Linked DNA regions of Homo sapiens: region 1 is linked to region 2. Evidence: promoter capture Hi-C in human tissues and cell types (Jung and others, 2019). All regions are on one chromosome and are shown on one strand. The core of a region is centred on a gene start or on the middle of the fragment in contact, and the rest is flanking DNA. Distances in the headings are between cores, read along the strand shown. Region 1 overlaps TSPEAR (thrombospondin type laminin G domain and EAR repeats). Region 2 holds the start of UBE2G2 (ubiquitin conjugating enzyme E2 G2).

Evidence for each region. Contacts are between HindIII fragments. The study calls those that stand out against the background at their distance.
Region 1: a contact is called between a fragment that was not itself captured here and the fragment with the promoter of UBE2G2 in region 2, in 1 of the 25 tissues and cell types used here (mesendoderm cells).

The regions. Positions count from the first base shown.
Region 1 is chr21:44,528,513-44,533,141 of GRCh38, forward strand. TSPEAR (thrombospondin type laminin G domain and EAR repeats) reads right to left here. Exons shown (of 12, transcript NM_144991.3): 4 at 2,531-2,621; 5 at 1,286-1,442; 6 at 1-71. LOC124905038 (a long non-coding RNA gene) reads left to right here. Exons shown (of 2, transcript XR_007067905.1): 1 at 1-3,025; 2 at 3,773-4,629. Among named protein-coding and RNA genes, the nearest start is that of KRTAP10-1, 9.4 kb to the right of the region's middle. The HindIII fragment of the contact is 5,517 bases long and covers 1-4,629 here.
Region 2 is chr21:44,798,097-44,803,300 of GRCh38, forward strand. It overlaps UBE2G2 (ubiquitin conjugating enzyme E2 G2), which reads right to left and starts at 3,724. Exons shown (of 6, transcript NM_003343.6): 1 at 3,610-3,724. The coding sequence starts at 3,652. It overlaps LINC01424 (long intergenic non-protein coding RNA 1424), which reads left to right and starts at 4,145. Exons shown (of 2, transcript NR_109928.1): 1 at 4,145-4,540. RefSeq lists an enhancer at 2,950-3,905 and silencers at 3,453-3,512, 3,573-3,792, 4,293-4,342. The HindIII fragment of the contact is 9,913 bases long and covers 1-5,204 here.

The DNA of each region.
Region 1 (4,629 bases), core at 1,100-3,599, 270 kb before region 2:
AAACCAGAACTGGGCGTCTTCCACCTCGGTACACGGTGGCTGGGGTCCCAGCGTCACTCGAATGTTGGTTTCTGAGGGGAAGACCAGGAAGATGAGTTTCCAGCAAGCCAGTGCCCCCAAAGGAAGACGACACAGGAAGAGGCCCCCAAACCAGGCTGCCCTGCCTCAGCCTCTGCATGCGGGCCTGGAAGGGCCCCTGCAGGCACCTTGGCACAAGCCTGCCACATCACAGACGGGGAATTGAGAACCTGGCCTACCGGTGACGAAGGACATCATGATGCCCCCTATATGGTCAGCCCACCCTCTGTCCACTCTGAAAGGCGTGGCTTTCCATCCCATTGAGGCAGAAAAGGCCTGCTCCTCTGAGAGTCCTCAGCGATTGCACAGGGCATGGTCCCCCCTCAGGAGGGAGTCCCTGTTGACAGTGGTGTATCTTAACGACGGCTTGGCTTGAACCTGTGGCGGTTTGATCTCATCACTTCCAGTAATCACACCCCACCATGGGTCCTAATTCTGCCACCTCTTGACTCTATGTGGGACATCTGTGCACCTGCCAGCCGGTGCTGGCCAGCGGTGTGACACAGTATACCATGCGGCCCGGATGTGTTGGAGGTGGGGGCTCCCCTACTTGGTAACCGCTAACCCTGAGGCTCGGGGGCTCGGCTGTTCTCCACCTCACTGCCCCTCGGGTTGGCTGAGAGCAGTGGGGATGCGGCGGGGAGGGGCATTTCAGATTCTCCATGGCAGGAGTGTGGTTTAAATAAATACAGTCACCCTTGTAACTTCACACAAGAGAAAATCAAGCGGGGAGGCCCTCTGGGCCGGGGGATCGTGGAAGACGTGAGTGTAGGGCCAGAGTGGGCCCGACTGGGGCGGGCTGGTCTGGATGATGGTGGGACAGAGGCGGGGTGGGGAGAAATGGCCCAAACGCTGTCCTTGGGGGGCAAAAGGGGATGAGGGATGTCAGATAGCTCTGGACAGACTTTCTAAAGTAAGTTAGGCCTGTTTTCTGCCTGGGGTCCCCAGGAAGGGGCTGGATGGCTGTCGTGGGAGTGCTTGGAGGGAAGGGCAGGATGACACTGGCCTGTCTGATGGTGCCGCCTGCCTTCCTAGGGGTGGGCCCCGAGTATCCCCCTGGCCAATATGACCGCTGCCCCCCGTAGCAGTGATGAGGGGGGCAGGCACACGAGAGGGGCTGAGAGCTGAGCCCTGAGTTCCCGCCTGGTGTGAGGCCAGGGCTCTCGCATCTGCCTTTGGTGTGGGGGCGGGTGGCCCCCCTACTAACCATAGGGATATTTTAGCACCTCGTTATCTTCTGGCTTCCCCGTGAGAGCCTGCAGGACCCGTGGGATGGACAGCACCGCCAGCGGGGCGTTCCTGCTGGGACACAGCCTTGGGGTGGCGTCTGAGCCCGGCAGCAGGACCAGTTGCCTCACCAGTCCCTGCAGAGAGAGGGACAGCTCCTTCAGGCCCGCGCTGCTGGGGAAGGACCCGCTGAGGAGGCGACCACTGAGCTTGGCCCATCCAGAGCCCGGAGGAGGCTCGGGTGGATGGAATCTAAGCTTTTGCAGAGCTAACTGGGAAGAGTTTACATGATGGTTACTGAGGAGGCCATGGGAGCAATGGTGAAGAATTGCCCCCCTTCCGAGGGAACTGAACCACAGAAGGGGTTTTTTATGTGAACTTAGAGTGACTGGCTACTCTGCTCATCCAACAGCCCATCCACCCATCCTGTTCATCCATGCATTCATCCATCCATCTGTCCATCCATCAGTCCAATCCATTCATCCATCACTAATCCATCCATCCCTCCACCTACCCATCCATTCATCCATGCATTCATCCATCCATCCACCCATTCATCCATCACTCATCCATCCATCCCTCCATCCACCCATCCATTCATCCATCCATTCATCTTTCTCTCCATCTGTTCATCTCTCCACGCATCCATCCCTCCATCCATCCATTCATCTTTCTCTCCATCTGTTCATCTCTCCACGCATCCATCCATCCATCCATCCATTTGTCCATCCCTCCATCTGCCCATCCATCTGTCAAACCATGCATCAATAAATATTCAGAGCATCTGCTATGTGCCAGGCATGGCTCTAGACACTGGACTCAGCAGGGAACAAAGGCCTCTAGCCTCATGGAGTGAGGTCCCCACTCACACGTGAGTGGAGACACAGGCACCGAGCAGACACCCAGCTGGCCTGAGAGCAGCAGGCCCTACTGAGGAAAGACAGCTCCGGGGAAGGGGCTGCAGGGCAGAGTGTGGGCATCAGCTCAGCATGGTGGGGGCAGCCTGAAGAGGACCGTTGGGCAGGGACCCAAGACCATCAGGGAGGAGGGTGCCAGGAGGAAACAGCAAGCGTGAAGGCCCTGTGGTAGAGACTCCACGCACGCTGTACCTTCTTTTCCCAGTTAGCACGTCCAAGGATCTGTCAACTAGAGCAGTAGGACAACTGGCCTGGGGCAGTCCCATCCCGCAGCACGGGTGTTGGGAAGGCAGCCCCTCCATACTCGCCATGAACAGGCCTTTGGCTCTCCTCCGGCTGCCGACGAAGAATCGAGCTCCTTTCACTGACAGGGTGGCTGGGAAGGGCACATCGGCCATTCTGAAAATATCAAAGGACTGTGTTAGGGCCATAGGAGAGTGGTCACCCCAGTTTACTCACAGAAGGAACAGGAACAAGCCCCTCACTAAGCAGCGTGCATCTGTGCTGTGGCTGCCACACAAAGGATGGCACACAGGGCTGATCGCCTGCACAGCTCTGGAGCCCAGTAGCCTGGATCAGGCTGGGGCAGGGTTTCTCCGAAGGCTCCAGAGGAGGACGCTTCCTCGACTCATCAGCTTCTGGTGGCTGCACGTGCTCCCCGTGACCTGTGGCCATGTCGCTCCAGTGTCCGACTCTCCCAGTATCTGTCTCCTGGTAAGGATCCTAGTCACACTGGAGCAGGGCCCGCCTCACTCCAGGATGATCTCAGCTTGACTTGATGACTGCAAAGACTCTGTTTCCAGGTAAGGTCACATTCACGGGTGCTGGGTGGACATGAATTCGGGGGGGGCACTTCACCCCAGGGCCAGGGCCTCCTGCAGAAGTGCGTGGTGACATGCTTAGTGGTTCTTCCCTATCTCATGGTGAACGTGCAGTGGCTTCGACCTGCACAGGGTCCTCCAGCCCACTCACCCTCCCTCCACTGAGCTCCTGCACCATCACCCGGCCTGGGGTGCTGGGACAGATGGCTTCAGGACAGGAAGGAGGCTGGTGACCCATGAGGGTGTCAGGAGCAGGCGGTCTTGACGAGTGCGTGGAGGCTGAACTCCGGAGATGGAGCAAGGTGGGTGCCCGCTGAGGGACAGCGTGGCTAGAGCTCCTGGGCGGAAGAGCAGGGGTGCCTTCGGGCTCGCCTCCCGCCCACGCTGCCACTGTCTCTTGTAAAACACCTGCTCCTTCCAGTCTTTGCCATCTGGCTGCAGCTGGCCGTGGTGAGCTCAGCTCCTGCCCTGCTGTCCCAGAAAGCCCCGTCCTCTGCACACAGCTCGGCCTCTGCTAGGGTCCAGGCTGCTGGCCCCCAAGCCCTGGCCTGTACCCTCCGTAGCAGCCTGCCAAGGGGTTAAGTTCTTCCGTGGCCACAATTGGTTCCAGGCCTGTGACTCCCCATGTCCCACCATCTTCCCCAGGAAGTCCACTTTTAAAACATTCGGGGAACATTCCTAATCATTATGCTTTCGACCCTGATTTCTTCCTTTCTCCTGATGAGGCAGGTGAACGTTTGTCCAGGCCTCAGGCGCTGCCGCCACGTCATTCCTAGCTGCTGTGGCAAAGCCAGAAGTCAGGCAGCATTCACGTCCAGCCAGGACTTTCTTTACGGGGTGGGAAGCTGCTGCTAGGTCAGGTTGTCTTCAGCCTGCACAGCACGTCCCTGGGAGGCTTCCAGCTCTCAGGACCTGAGAACTCATCACCGTCCTGAGGGCCCTAAAGAGTTTGGGGTATGGTGGGAGAGAGGCTCTGATAAAAGTGTGTTTAAGCTAAGTGCATAATAAAAATATTTATGCGATAAGTTTCATAACAAAACAGAAGATCCTACCTTTGAAAGTAATATTCGAAATAATTTAATATTTAATAGATTTAATATAAACTGGATCATTTGCAATTAAAAAGACAGAAGCGCAGCCCTGCTCCACAGTGGTAGATCCTGACATGGGTAACCAACTGGCCGAGCTAGGGGACTGAGGACTCCTGTCCAGGGGACCTACCGTCAGGCCACAAACCAGGCGACGGCAAAAACGAGAAACGAACTCGGCTTCCAAAAGCCCCCATTGTGTCCAAGGCTACAAAGGATAATCTTGTACTCATTTGGAGTTTCTGTCAACATCTGCTCCCTCGTCCACGAGGAACCTGCCATGTGGAGTCACGGAGCCAGGCCTCGGCCTCCAGCCTGGAGGTTGGGGAAGGAGTTACTCTGACTTCCCGCTGCTGCCTGTTGTGATGTTAGCGCCCTCCCCACAGTGCCGGTCCCCTGCCAAGTCCCCTGAGCTACTTCTGGAAAAGGAGTGCGCTTGGTGTGATCGCCCTTACCTTGTTCTAAGCCACTGACTCTGATGTGCAGCGGGTTTTGTGT
Region 2 (5,204 bases), core at 2,474-4,973:
AATGAGCTGTGGTTGTGCCACTGCACTCCAACCTGGGTGACAGAGCAAGACCCTGTCTCAAAAAATAAATAAATAAATAATTATTATTTGCCAAAATATGCTTAATTTTTATTGCTAAAAAATGCTAACAATCATATGAGCCTTCAGCAGGTCATAATCTTTTTGCCGGTGCAGTCTTGCCCGGATATTGATGACTGCTGACTGATCAGGGTGGTAGTTGCTGAAGGCAGGAGTGGCTGTGGTAGTTTCTGAAAATAAGACAACAATTAAGTTTGCCACAGGGACTGACTCTTACTTTCACAAAAGATTGCTCTGTAGTCTGTGATGTTGTTTGACAGCACTTTACCCACAGTGGAACTTCAGTCAAAACTGGAGTCAATACCCTCAAACCCTGCGGCTGCTTTATCAACTAAATTTATGGAATAGTCTCAATCTTTTGTCATTTCAACAATGTTCACAGCATTTTCACCAGGAGTAGATTCCATCTCAAGAATCACTTCTTTGCTCATCTGTAAGACTCAACTCCCCATCTGTTCAAGTTTGATCATGAGATTGTAGCAACTGAGTGACATCTTCAGGCTCCACCTCTAATTCCAGTTCCCTTGCCATTTCTACCACACCTGCAGTTGCTTCCTCCCCTTAAAGTCATCCATGAGCATTGAAATCAACTTTTTCAAACGCCTGTTGTTGATATGGTGACCTCCCATGAATCACAGATGTTCTTAATGCCATCTAGAATGATAAATCCTTTCCAGAAGACTTTTGATTTTCTTTGCCCAGATCCATCAAAGAAATCACTTTTCATGGCAGCTATGGCCTTATGAAATGTATTTCTTAAATAAGTCAAAAGTGCTCCCGGATCCATGGGCTGCAGAATTGGTGTTGTGTTAGCAGGCACAAAAACATTTATCTCCTTATACCTCTCCATCAGAGCTCTTGAGTGACCAGGTGCACTGTCAGGAATAGTATTTTGAAGATAATCTTTTTTTCTGAGCAGTAGGTCTCAACAGTGGGCTTATATTCAGTAAACCATGCTGTACACAGATGTGCTGTCATCCAGGTTGTTTTTCCATCTCTAGAGCTCAGAGTAGATTTAGCATAATTTTTAAGGGCCCTAAGATTTTCTGAATGATAAATGAGAACTGGCTTCAACTCAGTCAACTTAAAGTGACCGACATTAGCCCCTAACAAGAGTCGCCCTGTCCTTTGAAGCCAGTCATTGACTTCTCTCTAGCTGTTTACGTTGTATATGGCATCATCTCCTCCCAATACCGTATAAGGCTATTTTACGTACCTTGTAAATCTATTGCTTAATTTAGGAGCCACTTTCATCTTGATCTTAGCTAGATCTTCTGGAGACCTTGCTGCTTCACCTTGTGCTTTTCTGTTATGGAGACAGGTTATTTACTTCAATCTCATGAACCAACCTCTGTTAGCTCCCAATTTTTCTTCTGCAGCTTCCTCACTGCTCTCAGCCTTCATAAAACTGAAGAGTTAGGACCTTGCTCTGGATTAGGCTTTGGCTTAAAGGAATGTTATGGCTGGTTTGATCTTCTATCCAAACCACTAAAACTTTCTCCATATCAGCAGTAAGGCTTTTTCACTTTATCATTCATTGTGTTCAACAGAGCAGCACTTCTAATTTCCTTTAAGAACTTTTCCTTTGCATTCACAACTTGGCTAACAAGAGACCCAGCTTTCAGCCTATCTTGACTTTCAACATTCCTTCCTCACTAAACTTAATCATTTCTAGCTTTTGATTTGAAGTGGGTAGAGTGCAACTCTTCACTTCAACACTTGAGCCCACTGTACAGTTACTATTGGCCTAATTTCAATGTTGTTTTGTCTCAGGGAAGAGAGAGGCCGGGAGAGAGATGGGGAAACAGCCAGTCAGTGAAGCACACACAACATTTATTAGGACTACCATCTTTTATGGGCATAGTTTGTGATGCCCCAAAATAATTACAATAGTAACATCAAAGATTACTGATCATAGATCACAGTAATAGATTAAAATGTAAGAGAGAGACACGAAGCGAGCAAAAATGGTGCCAACAGACTTGCTTCCATGCAGGGTTGCTTGTAAAAAACTTGTAAACTTGTAAAAAATGCAAGATCTGCGAAGTGAAGCTCAATAAAGCAAAGCGCGCGGGAAACTGAGGTGTGCCTTTATGTTCTGCTTTAGCAGACACTAGGTGGCGAGCGTTATTTGAACGTTTACAGGAGGCCCTGTGTATCTGCGGCTGCATATCCATGGATTCGACCAACCAGGAATACAAAATATTTGAAAAAAATAACAATAAAAAATGACGATTTAAAAATACAAGTAAAAAAAATCAGTGTAACTATTTGTGCAGCACTTACATTGCATTAGGTACTATAAGTAACCTTGAGATGATTTAAAAGTTATGAGAGGCTATGCATACATTAAATGCAAATACCACGCCACCTTATAGTAGGGACTTGAGCATCCGAGGATTCTGGTATCTGCAGCGGGGCCTGGAACCAATCCCCTCCAGATACCAAGGGAAGAATGACCATACGTGAGTGAGCCTGTATTTGCAACGTTTTGGTCTGCTTAAGCCAAACATCAACTCTTACTGGGCGGTGTCACCAATAGTTTTACGAAATCAAGCTACATGTATATTCACCACTTATTTTTTTTCTCACATTCATTCTTTTAGCTTAACTTTCTTCCAAAATTATCCTCAATCTAATTACAAAAGCAGCAGCTAACTTTATTAAGGGTTACACATCAGGTATTTTGCTAAGCACTTCACCTGCAGTATCAAGTTTAACCTTTTAAGACAAGGAAACTGCAGAGACAGAGAGAGGAACAAGGTCAAAGAGCTAACAAGCAGAGAGGCCGGGTCTGAACTCAGGCCCTGCTCTTAGCCGGCTACTATCTCGTCTCCATCGGCGACTCAGGCTCCTGGCGCTTTCAACACAATGGTATTCCAAGACTTCTCGCAGCAGTTCTTCCAAGCGGGCATTCGGTGTAAAACGATGGAATGCCGAGTGTTCCTAGGTTCTCATTTCTCCCTTCGCTCTCCTCAGACATTAGAAATATCTAATTTACCGGGTAGGAAAGCACTCAAGAGGTTTCCTCAACACTACCTAGGAGGAGTGACAGGTGGCACTGTTCAAAAACCCTTTTCCTTCATTAGAGGGAAAGCCAAAATCTGACCTTTCAAAGCTCCACCAACGAGCCTTTCCCCTTTTAACGCATACACTTTTCCCTCCTAATTCCGCAGCAGCAAGTCAGGCCTTCTTCCTCAAGCTCTCACTGCACGTTCTCAAGGCTGCCAAGAAAAGAAAAAATAGAAGAGAAAAAAACAAGCCCGCAAAGACTCAACTGTGTGTGCTCTCAACTAACACGGCGCCGGCGCTGCCTTTACTGATGCTGGGAAGGCTTCTCTTCACGACTTCACGCGTGAGAGTGGGCAGCGGGCGCAGGGCGCGGCACTCCGCGGGACCCACAGGGGGGCTCACGGTGGAGGCCCCGGGCCCGGCTCCCCCGCCAGGCTCCCTGCCCCAGCCCCGCCGGACGACGCGGGCCCGGGAGCAGGAACGCGGGACGCTGCTGACGGCCCGGGTCCCCAGACTCACGTTTGTACTCGGCCATCAGCCTCTTGAGCGCGGTCCCCGCCATGGCCCCGCAACAGCTGCGCCGAGCGACCTCGCCTCAGCCGCGCGCGTGCCTCCTGCCCCGACACCGGGGACTGCTTCCGGGCCACCGTCGCGGGCCCAGGAACTCTTCCGGGGCGTGGCGCGTGCGCGATCGCCGAGGCGCGCTGTCCGGGTGGTGGGAGCTCAACCCGCGACCGCGGCTACGATTCTCTTGGCTCCTGCCCTCGCCTTAGTCGCTCTGCGGGGTTGGTTCGGTCCCGGCACTTCCAGAGGCCTCAGGGTCCTGGTCTTGTAGAGACTTCCTGAACGGTGGCGCCTGTTCCAGTGTGTGTGCGCTAACTGCCTGTTCTGTGCCAGCCGCGCGTGGCCGAAGGGCGGGAGGACGGGGGTTGTGGAGGGGAGGATGGAGGTTGGGGAGACAGGGCGGGGACGAGATAAGAGGTCGGGGGGTGGGGAGGATGGTCGCGGGGCGGTCTGGGGCTGGAGACAAGGGGCCTGAGGTGCGGGTACGCACTGAACATTCCAACCGTCCCCAGCCGGCCGGGTTTCAGGTTTGAAAAGGTGGGAAGGTTAGCTGTCCTGGCGCTTTTCCTCCACGTGTTGTGCGGCTCCGCTGGAGTTCGGGTCCAGCACCTTCTACTCCGAGGGAGAGAGCCGCGGGGAGAGCCCTGTTCGGGCCCGCGGCTCGAACTGACCGCCGGCTCTGCCGAGCAGCCTCGACCCCAGGGCACCCCCGGGAGAGAGGGCGCGGCTCAGGTCCCTGCCCGAACCCCTGGGGTGCTGAGAGACTCCCCAGCGCCCCGCGTGGGCTCCCGGCCTCTCCACAGTTGAGGATCCTGTAAGGGGCGAGCCCTTTTTCCCATAATGGCTGTAGTGAGTGGGTGTGCTTTCCCGATTGACCCGCTGTGAGGTGAGCGATTTTAACCCACATCCTTACTGACTTCACAGCACAGTAGGTGCTTCGTGGCTGTCCGGTGCAAGGATGTATATACACACACACCTTTGCAAAAAAAGTTTGCATCTCTTGCCTGGCTGTTTGTTGCAATAATCTATCATTTGTCTTTTCCTTTCCAGCATTGCAGATGATCCCTTGAAAAGAAGTCTGATCACATTCACACTCTGCTCCGCCCATTTCACTCAGTAAAGCTGAAGTCCTGCAGTGCTTTGCTCTGCCTCCGGTCACCCCGCCATACTCCCAGACCCTCCCTCCCTCTCACTCCACTCCAGCTGCCCTGGCCTGGTTCAGAGTCCCTGACTCTTCCCTCCCCGGAAACACTTTCTGGCGGCTCTTGTCCCCGACTCTTCCCACCTGCTCTTTCAGTCTTTGCTCAAATGTTGCCTCTTCAGTGTGGCCTAGGCCGTCACCACCCGGCCTTCACCGCATACCTTTTTCTCTGCAACACCTACTCAACACACCGTACTATAGAACTTACTGGCATGCTATAAATGTATTACCCTTATCTGTTGCCTCTAACCAAAAGCGTGTTCCATGAGAGCCATGGGTCCCTGCCTACTTCTGTCTTGTTTCTGGGGCAGCCTCTGTACCTGGACATCGTATACTCTTAACACGGATT